Regions from separate parts of the Homo sapiens genome. Here region 1 is linked to region 2. Evidence: promoter capture Hi-C in 16 types of primary human blood cells and fetal thymus (Javierre and others, 2016). All regions are on one chromosome and are shown on one strand. Each heading gives the region's core, a stretch centred on a gene start or on the middle of the fragment in contact. The rest is flanking DNA. Distances are from core to core; before and after follow the strand shown. Region 1 overlaps TMEM72-AS1 (TMEM72 antisense RNA 1). Region 2 holds the start of LINC00619 (long intergenic non-protein coding RNA 619).

The links. Contacts are between HindIII fragments. The CHiCAGO score rates a contact against its expected background, and 5 or more counts as called.
Region 1: a fragment that was not itself captured here is called in contact with the fragment with the promoter of LINC00619 in region 2 in 2 of 17 cell types (endothelial precursors and fetal thymus); the score reaches 5.8 in endothelial precursors.

What each region holds. Positions count from the first base shown.
Region 1 is chr10:44,858,633-44,864,318 of GRCh38, reverse strand. The region is part of intron 2 of TMEM72-AS1 (TMEM72 antisense RNA 1); the gene reads left to right. Among named protein-coding and RNA genes, the nearest start is that of TMEM72, 50 kb to the left of the region's middle. The HindIII fragment of the contact is 1,946 bases long and covers 3,199-5,144 here.
Region 2 is chr10:43,843,010-43,848,445 of GRCh38, reverse strand. LINC00619 (long intergenic non-protein coding RNA 619) reads right to left here and starts at 3,140. Exons shown (of 3, transcript NR_033923.1): 1 at 3,039-3,140; 2 at 2,844-2,913. The HindIII fragment of the contact is 2,595 bases long and covers 2,416-5,010 here.

The DNA of each region.
Region 1 (5,686 bases), core at 2,922-5,421, 1.0 Mb before region 2:
CCCAGAGGCCAGCGAGTGTCAGGGCAGAACGCTCAGGCCATGCGCGCTGACGAGCACTCGGTGTGCGACCAGGTGGCCAAACGCTCACTGCACAGGCTCCGCCCTTTGAAGAGAGGCAGCCCGTGGGTGCGCAGGCTTGGCAAGCTCTGCTTTGCGAAGGAAGGATGGCGGGAGCTGGATCCGACACATTTGTAGACAGCCTAGCTCATCTGCTCTCTTAAAATGAATCAATCATCCACCAGGCGTTGTGTGAGGACTGCATATGTGCCAGCAGGACTTCAAAAAATGTCCTGTTTACTAGGGAGAGAAACAAGAAAACCAATAAATGCAGTATAGCATCAGACATTCTGAGAGAAAGAAATGTATATGGAACTGAGGTTGCTGAAAGGGAGACCACACTTTCCCTAGCCCGGGGAGGCTAAGAAATGCAGTCAAGAGGAGGATGTTCCCAGAACGTGAGGCACAGGGAGGAGAATGAAGTGGGTGTGGGAAAGGGGCGTTCCCGCGTCCTAGGGAAATAGGTGCAAAGACACAGGCAAGTTAGAAAGCCTGTCACTTTGGGGGCAGCCTTTCTTTCCTTTTTAAGCAACTCAGGATTTTTACGTTGGTTGAAGTTACTTGATGATTTCAAATCAGTGCTGACGTTATGCTTAAAAGAAATAAAAGGTCAAAGAAAGAGTATGGTAGGAGTAATTCAGGTGGTTACTTTGAACAGTTTCTATAGACAAGAACTCCGCAGCCACTTTGACGCACACCGCAAGCCCCAGCTACGCTCAGGTGCAGGCAGCGCAGAGTCCTCCGCCAGGGGAGCCACCTGGTGGGGGCCAACCGCAAACCGTGTGTGGTGTGGAAAAGCTCCAATTCCTTTGCTCTCCAGCCTAACTCATACTCACTGGATAGGGTATAAAAAGGTCTGTAAAAGACCTTCACAAACTAAAATCTGGTTATAGCTGCAATCTGGCTTGGCAATTCATGGATCGCTGGCTCCCCGTCCCTCTGCACTCACAATGACTGCAGGGTGGGACAGTTTCTCTGCTTTTTGAAAAAGGAAATCTGCTTTCCTAGATCTTGATGGAATATACAAAAATGGTTTAGTGCCATAAGCTCCTTCTCTAAGCAGGCAGCTCAGGGAGCTGATGCCAATTGGTTACTCTTGTAGAAATTTCGTGAACTACAGTAAACCATTCGCTAAGCCTTTCTGACATCTGGAGCAGCCTCCTTCCTGCCACTGCCTTTTCTCTTGGCAGGAACACAGACCCTAGAGGGACAAAGGGTGGCAGAAGTCACCAGAAGCTGTAACATACTGCAGCTGCACGGAGACCTGTGCCTGTTCATACTCCTCAACTCTCGGCTCCTGGTGGGCTTGTCTTTGTACCCCATGGAGCCCACCCAGCTTTCAGCCAGTGCCAATGTGCATTTTAAATCAAACTTTAATGGATTTAAGATGCATATATTCTCTTTCTCTATACTCATGGCATCAGGATCTCAAAGACTACTCAATAATTTTTCATTTACTCATTCATTTATGCAAAAAGTATTTTTAGACCCTGTGCTGGGTACAATAGTGTACAAAGCCAGATAGAATTGCTGTGTTCATAGGGCTTGGCATCAAGCAGGAAGATCAATACACAGGGTGCAAGGGACATGAAGCCCGGTCACAAAAGCCTTCCTGGAGAAATGGGCGCCCAGCTTGAAGGCAGGAAGGCAGGGCCTTGGCCAGAGGCAGGGGGAGTCTGGAGTGAGTAGAGATCTGCAGGGGTTGTGTGTGGAGGAGCCAGGCCAGCCTTGAGAGCCTGTGGTGCTCTTGAGCCTGTCAGCTGTAGCTGGGGCTGGGAGGCTTTGGTCAGGGTTCGTGGGAAAGCAGAAGTGCTCCAGCTATTTCAAGTAGAGAGAGATTTAATATGGAGAGCCAGGGCCTTCTCAACCATGGGAGGGAGTTGGGGAGCAGAGATCAGGAAGACTGCCTCACGACATCGAGAACAGAAATGGAAAGGAAGTCATCACCGGCAACCCCAGCAGCCTGCAGTGCCCAAGCAGGTTGCTCTCAGGGGAACACCTGGAACTCCGAGAGCTGTGTGCTCCTGGAGGCCAGCCACCTGCAGTGCCCGTGGGGGCTTCTTAGAGGAAGCCCTGGGAGGCCAGAGAGAGAGTGCTGCTGATGGCTGTGGCTGCAGGACGGAGAAAGACACTCCCTCTGACACCCTAGAATGTGAGCTACGCACGGGCTGAATCTAATCTGGCCTCCGGCAGGGACAGTGATTCTGTGGCTTCAGACATGTCCCTGAGAAGCAGAGGATGGTGTAGCAGGCACCAGAAAATGCTGATGATGACGATGATCCAGCAAAATAGTTGGTGGAGAAGGAGCTGGGCTCCTGTCTTGCCTCTGCCACTTACTGGCTGTGTGCCTGTTTCTAGGCCTCAGTTTCCTCCTCTGTAAAGTGGGGATGACAGTACTACCTGCTTCATGCAGATTATGAAACATTAGACAAGATAATGAGTAAAGTTTTTAGCATACTACTTTGCATGTAGGTTTTGGTGGTTTCTGGTTATTATTCATAGTGATTTTTTCAGTAATTATATATTGAAAAGAAAGCTGAAAACCATTAAAGGATGTTAAAAACACCATGGAAATGTGCTTATCTTTTTAAAAAGTTGCAGTAGCTTTGGGAAGTCACCAGGAATGGCAGCCACGTGGCTCCAAACTGACTGCTGTGTGGCAGGGACCGCCAGGGTGGGGCTGGGTCCAGCTCAGAGTCATCCTGCTGAGCTTTCAGCCCCCAGATCCTTATCAAGTCATTGTGAATCTCAGCGCATTCCAATGGGCCATGTTCATGATGCCTGTGGAGGGGTGGGGTGGTTCCCTCCACTTTGGCCCAAGGAGAGTTTGCCTTTCCCAGGACTCTGGCCAGTAGAGTTCAAGTGGTGTAATTTTCTTCATCTCTTAACTGTTTCCAGGAGTTTGCAGAGCCTTCTCCTTCCTGGCTTCCTTCTCTGCCTTGGGGGTGCCTGTGGCCACAGGAGCCCTGAGCAGGGTTTGCACTCCCAGTCTGGGGATGAACAGGAGGACCTGTCTGATGGGAGCAGCTGCCAAGCAAGGGTGGGGATGGGAGAGAACCCCCAAACAGAGCAGGCGTGGCGTCCGGGTGGGCCAGATGAGCAGGGGTCCAAGGTCAGGGTTCACAGGCTCAACAAGAAGCTTCCTCTTGGAAACCTAAAAAAGGAATCAGGACCGAGGGACATAACCACAGAGACACCAAAGGCCCAGACAACAGGCTCAGGCGGGAGCGTAGCTACTTGTGGTCATAAAGCTCTGAATGCTGCTTTAGTCTCCAGGCCCCAGGGCCTGAGCCTTCAGGACCAAGATCTGGAGCTCCTGCCCTGCTATACCAAAGGTGCTGCTGTAAACACTGTTCTGGTTCTAACTGTTTAATCCCACGCCAACTCTAGGAGGCAGGTGCTATTTAATATCATCTCCAGTTACCAAGGAAGAAACTGAGATTCAGAAAGAGAAAGGCACCTGCCCAAGGTCGCACAGCTTGTGAGCTACAAGGCTGGGACCTGGGCAGCCTGGCTCTGGGGGAAGCGTCAGGCACCAGGGTCCCTGCAGGGGCCTCTGTGCACTTTCTCATTCACATGGCCTGAAGCTCATCCTGAGGTCAGCTGGGAGACTGTGCAGCCCTCTTCAAAGGCCCATCTACAGAATTTGTGAGTCTTTGAACCATTTATTGATTGTAGAAGACAATCAGCCCAGAGAGACGTGAGATGGTTCTGTAGGAAACACTATGATAGGACAGTCAGCAGGAGCCTAGTACAGCACTGAGTATGTGTGTGTGTGTGTGTGTGTGTGTGTGTTTGTGTGTACACTCAGAAAAAAGCAAGTTCCTACTGTGGCAAAGAATAGAGGGTAAAAATGCAAACATGCGAGTACCCCTCTGACACAATGAGTTCTTTCTATCATTCATTTTTTTCTTTACCATTTTAGTGGAGGCAACATTGCCCCAAGGGAATAAACGGACATTAAATCTCTGTGTTTTGGGATTTTCCTGGCATTTTTAAATCAGGAAAGTACTATTTACAGCTACATGCTCACACACACACACACACCCTGCACACACACACACACACATACACACACACACACGGGGAGGGTCACAGCAGACAATGGCACCTGGCCCAGCGGGGTCCCCTGGATGGGAAGGCAAGTGCAGTGTGTCAATCACTTAGAGGGGCAAAGGCGGGCTAGAGGGAAAGCCCCCAATTCCTGAAGATGGTGGGGCTGGACAGGAGAGACCTTCATCCCTGTCACTTTCCTCTAAGCTCCATACCAAGTGGAAGTCACGAAGGTTAGGGTCTTGTTGCTCACCCATAAAACGAAGTATGGTGATGACAGTGATGGGACTAAGTCACACTCATGTTAAGTTGTCCAGTACCTGCGACACAGACACTGCAAGAACAGTCCCTCTAGGTGTTAGAGACAGCAGCCTCTGTCCCAAGGCATCTGTGAGAGTTGGAAGTGGTGCTTGGTAGATGGCATTGTGTGGATGGGTACTGGGGGGAGTCACATCTGCGGGTTGGTCCCTGTGCAGCACACAGAGAACGATGTCTGCGTGGACCTCACTTGATGGCTGTGACAGCCTCAGCTCACTTGGCTTCCCACACAGGAGACCTGCAAGGCCACTCACAAAAGGCGATTGATTTAGTGGCTCAGGGCGCTGGGATGGAAGGGCCTGGGGAGTCCTTCAGTGACGACCCTTCTCTCTGCGTGGCCTCAGGCCCCAGCCTCCCCACTTCTCCCAGTTCTAGCAACTGACACTCATCTCTTCTCCCCAACCCTCTTTTCTCTTTCTAATCTGTGAAAGAAAAAGTAGTCCCCACTTCCCTGGGGCTTTACCTTTAGAATTCCAAATTGTTTTACCACAACTTGGCTCTGGTAAATTCCAAGTTTTGACTTTTCTCTCTGTTGTTTAATATTTGAATTTCAAGACCCAGCTTGGAAGTTGAAGAACTGAATATTGAGGATTTTATTCCCTTGTGTTCCTGCTACATAACTCCTGATTCTCCTTCTTGCAGAACAGGCTAGAGGGTGAGTCACTGTCTCAGTCAGCTTGAGTTGCTGTAACAAATACACCCTAGGCTGGGAAGCTTAAACAGCAGACATTTACTTCTCAGAGTTCTGGAGCTGGGAAGTCCAGGATCAAGGCACTGGGAGATGTGGTATGTAGGGGGCCCTTTTCAGGTTTGGGATGGCACCTTGCTGTGGTCTCACATAAGGGAGAGCAGGGAGGTAGGGAGCAAGCTAGCTCAGGTCTCTCTCTCTCTTTTTTTTTTTTTTTTTTTTTTTTGAGACAAGAATCTTGCTCTGTCACCCAGGCTGGAATGCAGTGGTGTGATCTTGGTTCACTGCAACCTCTGCCTCCTGGGTTCAAGTGATTCTTCTGCTTCAGCCTCCCGACTAGCTGGGACTACAGGCTTGTGCCACCACGCCCGGCTAATTTTTGTATATTTAGTAGAGATGTGGTTTCACCATGTTAGCCAGGATGGTCTTGATCTCCTGACCTCCTGATCCACCTGCCTTGGCCCCACAAAGTGCTGGGATTACAGGCGTGAGCCACCACACCTGGCCCTCAGGTCTCTTATAGGAGCACTAATCCCATCATGAGAGCTCCAGGCACATGACCTCATCACC
Region 2 (5,436 bases), core at 1,891-4,390:
CTGTCTGCTTAATATCTGTGTCCTAATAGAACATGAGTGCTGAAAGACAGAGGGTGTCCTACTGATTCCTGTCTACCTAATGCCTAAAGGTATGCCACCCAGCTTTCTGCTGACTTAATTTAATTCATTCTATGTTGCCCTAAACTCTTACTGCAATGATTCTCAAATTTACCTGTTCAGTACAGCCTCTGCTTTTCCTACTCTCTCCACTTTCCTTGTAGCAAATTAAAGATGGCCTCCTTTGTCATGTCTCCCATTGAGAAGTGGGCTCTGATTTCCTTCCCCTTGAATCTGGGCTGGTCCTGGGGATTTGCGTGGCCAATAGAATGTGGCGGAAGGGAACTACAGGACTTCTGAAGCCAGGTCATAAGGAGCCTTGCAGCTTCTGCATGGGTCTGTTGGCAGTCTCATTATTGGAATCCAGTTGCCATGATGTGAGGCACCCATGCCACATGAAGAGTCTATGTCTAAGTCTATGCATGAGTTCCAGCATCAACCTGCAGCCAGGCGAGCAAGCCATCCAGGGTGCCTAGGCCAGCTGAGCCTTCAGATGAATACAGCCCCAGTCAACATATGACTGTGACCACCCAGCCAACCACAGAACAATGGGAGATAATAAATTCTTATTAAACCACTAAGTTTCTGCATAGTTTTCTAGGCAGCAATAGCTGAAGAAATACTCTCTAATAAATACCAAAATAAAGATGTAATGAAGAATAGGCCAGTATACACAATAGAAGAGAAGGAACACTGGGAGCTAGGTGTTCTAGCCTTAACTCTGCTACCAGCTAGTTGTTTAGGATCACGTAACCTCTCTAGGTCTTTTGGGAGAGAGTATTTTAATTTAAGAGATGAGGCCAGTCATATGTAACCCTAAGTCTTTCACCCTATGTGTGCATTTTTATAATTTGCTTTTACCAAACTTTATTGTATAACTAAAGTAAATAATTTAATTCAGATTTAATTCAGATGTTCTCGTAGTATGAGTAAGGAAGTAAAAAATAAGTGCTACCAGCATCACAATTTTGCCTTGGGTTGGTCCAGTTTAAGAAGCAAAGAAAAAAGTGGGACACCAGAGAACAGAGCTGGAGGGCGTCTTCAAGAGTAAAGACTCCAGCCTGCTGTAGAGACCCAATCAAGAAAATGAGTTGCCAGTAATTAAAATGTGCCTGTTAGAAATAGGACGGTGACCCAGGGTCAATGACAGGAAGGGTTTGGGGGTTGCATTGTTTTGCTTTGTTTTGTTTTTCTTCTGAGTTTAAATGAAGGGTTTGATGATGTTGGCAAGTTGCTTGCTTCACAAGGAGAGGGTCAGAACTCAATGAGGGCTTCCAGCTCAGATATCATCTTTCCAGGATTTTGAGCTCTTCCCTTTGTTTCTAAAGCAGAAATGTGATCACATGGCTCCCCTGCTGAAAACTTTATCGTGCTCCTATTGTCTGCAGCAAAAGGAACAATTCGAATTTCTCCATCTGGCCCCTCCTGCTTCCTCACCACCCACCCACCCAGCCCCCACGCCCCCCACGCCCCCCACGCCCCGACACATTGAGCACCAGTCCTTACTGAGGTGTCTTGTCCTTCTCCCTCGGGATGCTCATCTCCCAGATGGAGAACCAGGTAAAGATATGCTTCTGTCTTACCCCTGGCCCACATCCTGTTGAAGTTCCCTGACTGCAGCTACAGCAACTTTGATTTTGGAAATGATTTGAGAGCAGCTTGCTGTAAAAGCGCTCTACTTTGGGCTGGCAGCTGGACTTTACCTTCACCATTTGCCATGCAGGTGAGCCTTGGACTTAGCTGGTTCTTGGTGTGCTTGCCACAGACTTGGTGACGCCCCATCCCTCCGCTGACAACCGGAAATTCTTCACTTCCTGCCTGGTGCTTCCCAGCGCGCCCTGCTGCCAGGAGAACGGCGGCAGGCAGGCGTCTTTTCAGGATGCCCTTCCAGCTGCCCGAGGGCCCCGCTCCTCCTCTGCCCTTAGCATCAGGGACACGTCCACTCCCTCCCAAGCCTCTGCAAATGCTCCCTGCTCTAGGAATGAGGTGGAGCAAACAGCACTTAGCACAAAGGCCAACCTTCCACAAGGAGTAGCTGTTTTTACATCATTTCCTCATCCACTTTTACAATTACATGAATAATTCTTAAATAAGTAATATATACACATGACAAAATCAAAGGCACAAGAGGTCAAATCAAAGGTCAAGAGGCACATCATTCAGTTTCTGACTCCACATCTGTTTTATCTGGCATGCTAGTGTGTGGCATGCATAGCACTCATTCCTGGGTTTTTTTAAATACTCAAATAAATTTTATTTTCTCTTTAGTTTGCCGAATAAATTCAGCACATCTTTCTTGGCATTGCAAATCACGTATTCCTGATGTGGACAGTCCCAGTTCTAAGAACTATGGAAGCTTATTATGTTTTTTTTTAAGCTGAAAATATTCTGATTTTTAAATGTCAAAAAACACAAATGTATAAAAGGTTTATGATGAAAGTCCCAGTCCTATCTTTAGCACTGGGTTGCCCAATTACCCAAGACCCTCCACTGGGAGGCAAATATAATTTTTAAAATATTTTTTAATATTTTGCTATTAATAAACTAAGATAGCCACCTGTAGCTGACCATGTCCTCCTTTTGCCACTGCAATGTCAAAATGCCCACTTCTGTTTTGGCACTAAGATAATACAGTTCTGATTTTCTGCATGAGTCTCCTCCGCCATACTGCAGGCACCTTGACCGCAGGGAACACTAAGGCATCAACAGATGTCTCTGGGACGATGTTGACAGAGCCGTTCCCCCACAGAACTTAATAATCAATGAGACCGATAAACTGCACATACCTGTGGAACTTTGGGGAGCCAAGGGTCAGAATCCACCATACCCACATCTCTTCTTCCACATCTCTTCTTCCTGTTTCCAGAGCAGCAACCAAGGCTCATACCAGCCTCTCACCCACTTCAGACACACCCCTTGCCCTCACCTGTGGGGCAGGTTTCCCAGGCTCTGGGGCCACTGCCCGTCTGGACAGGAAGTACCTGGAGGAGAGGTCCGGGGGTGGAATGCTTTGGCCAGAGGAGCAGGCTGGCTCCACGCTTGTCTGCTGGGGGCGGGATGATTCCTTTGGACTCATGGCATCTGGCCTCTCTGGCAGCAGATTCTCCCTTTTCTAAGCCTGCCCTACCCCCTCATGATTCTCTGGATTTCTCACGTTGCACCTGCCTCAGACCACAGGCCACTTAATGACCTCAGAGACTAAGTAACCACCATGCCAACTAAAATGTGACCTGCATGCCCCTCCCTTGGTTATGATTTAGGTTTTACACCACAATCCCTTCTAGTTATTTGGTTTCTTTTTTTGTTTTGTTTTTCCCATGCCTTTCAAATGTAAGCCTTGGGAGGAAGGAATTCTTGTCCCTTCTGTTCACTGTGATATTCTTCCGAACAGTGTTCACTGGATAGAAGGCCTTCAATAAATAGTACTCAAATAAATAAATGACTACATAAATTGTCAAGATACAATCTTCCAGGAACTGTACTAATGGCTGGAAAACAGAAGTGGGGGGAAAAGAAAAAGAGGCCTCACCCTCAGGGAACTAACAATCTTCTGGAGAAAAAAAAATGGGCTAATATGTATACATGTGGATATATAATTTAAAATTAAGGATGTTAGGAAGGATAATTCTGTTGTTTCTACCCCACAGGGCAAGGTTGTTAGTTTTTGTTTTGCTTTGTTTTGTCATGCTGTATTAACTGTGAAAGTGTATCCTCCACCTCCTGAGAATCAATCACTTCTTGGTATTCTCAATCACTCCACTATAATTATAATCCGGATTTTCAGAGTCAGAAATTCCTGTTTCTAGCCTTTGTTCTGATGTGGAGCAGGATCTCCCTGAGTTGCTTCACTGGAGACTACAAGCCTGCAGACACAGGGCCCCCTCCTCCTGTGGACACCCTTCAGCCTCACAGACTGGCAGCACTTGCAAACCCTCGAGAATGTCATCATCTACCCGCCTGGTACAGCAGCCTCTGTGAGAGGTGGGCCCCTTGGCTCCTTCCCTTCATGGAATTCTGTGAGTTTTTTATGACTAAAAAAGGAATTCACAAGTCCACCTCGCAATGGTGAGATGCAGATGGTTTTTGAACATAGAGCCCCAAGTCACCAACTTTTCATCATTATTGCCAGCCCAAACCTAAATCAACATTCAGTTGCTTTTATAAGAAGTAGGTGAAAGATCTTGAGGGAAAAAAGTCATGGAACACTTGAAGATTACACTGGATGAAGAGAATTATCTTTATTGAACCCAGATCTAAAAAGCAGGGCTCACTCAGGAAGAATTCCATCCACAGGCCAGCACATTTGCTCTGGAGTGGAGCACCCAGAACTGCACGATGTATGGAACTGACAGGTTCTGTCTTTCCACCTCTTTCTTTGGCAGGCCCGGATCTGTTTTTCATTGTCTTCGCCACATGTTTTCTCCTTGGTGTATGTTGCAATTTTTGACTTGTAGAGCATCAAAAAGAAACAAAGCAAACCTCCAAGAACAGCAGAATTTGGCCAGAGCCAAAAGCAACTCAGAATTTGAACTGAACTTGCTCAAAGCAGGGCAAGAAGACAGAGGCTTACGAAAATGCCTTTTGTTTGAACCAAAGACTGGAGCCAAAGAATCTGTGTCCAGAAGCTCTTGTGCATGGATGAGCCTCCGATCCCAACCTTCAAGAAGCCAGCTGGACAAGGAGAGGCTGGCAGCTGTGTCCCAGAGAGCTGAAGCCACAAACCCATCCCGCTTTGGCACTGAAGTTCGAGCCCCATGGAGCTTGGAGAGTTCTAACAGATTCCACCCCCACGGCAGTGGATCTATCCCCGGGTTTAGGGTGATGTGCATTCCAGGCACACTGTGTCCATTAACTCAGTGACACATTCTAATATTCTACTGATTGCATCAGCCCTTGTCTCAATTACCCAAAGATGCTGTGACTGTAGGACTCCAGATTTACATTATAGAAGCTTCCCCTACCACAGGCCCAGCCCCCAGCATCCAGCTTGAGACACATGTGACTCATGCCACAGAAGGCTTCTGTGTGTCTGGCCCCCACATCTTCCAGGGCTAGCCCCTGTCCTGACTTCTGACAGCACAGATCAATCCAGGAAGGACCACTCAGAACACAATCACCTTGTTATTATACGTGCAGTCAGTAAGTGAGCATGCTGTCCATCCTATCCCCCAACGTTTCATTCATATCTCCATTTAGAGGCAGTGGAGCTAAGAGACACAAGTCCCATTGCCAGGGTTTGATTCTGGCCCAGCCATTGCTTACCCCCATGAGGCTTCTGTTTCCTCATCTTTAAAATGAAGGCAAAAATGTCAGATTACCCCAAGGAGTAAATAAGATAACGTGTGGGACATATAACACGAACAGCTCCCCCAGCCCATA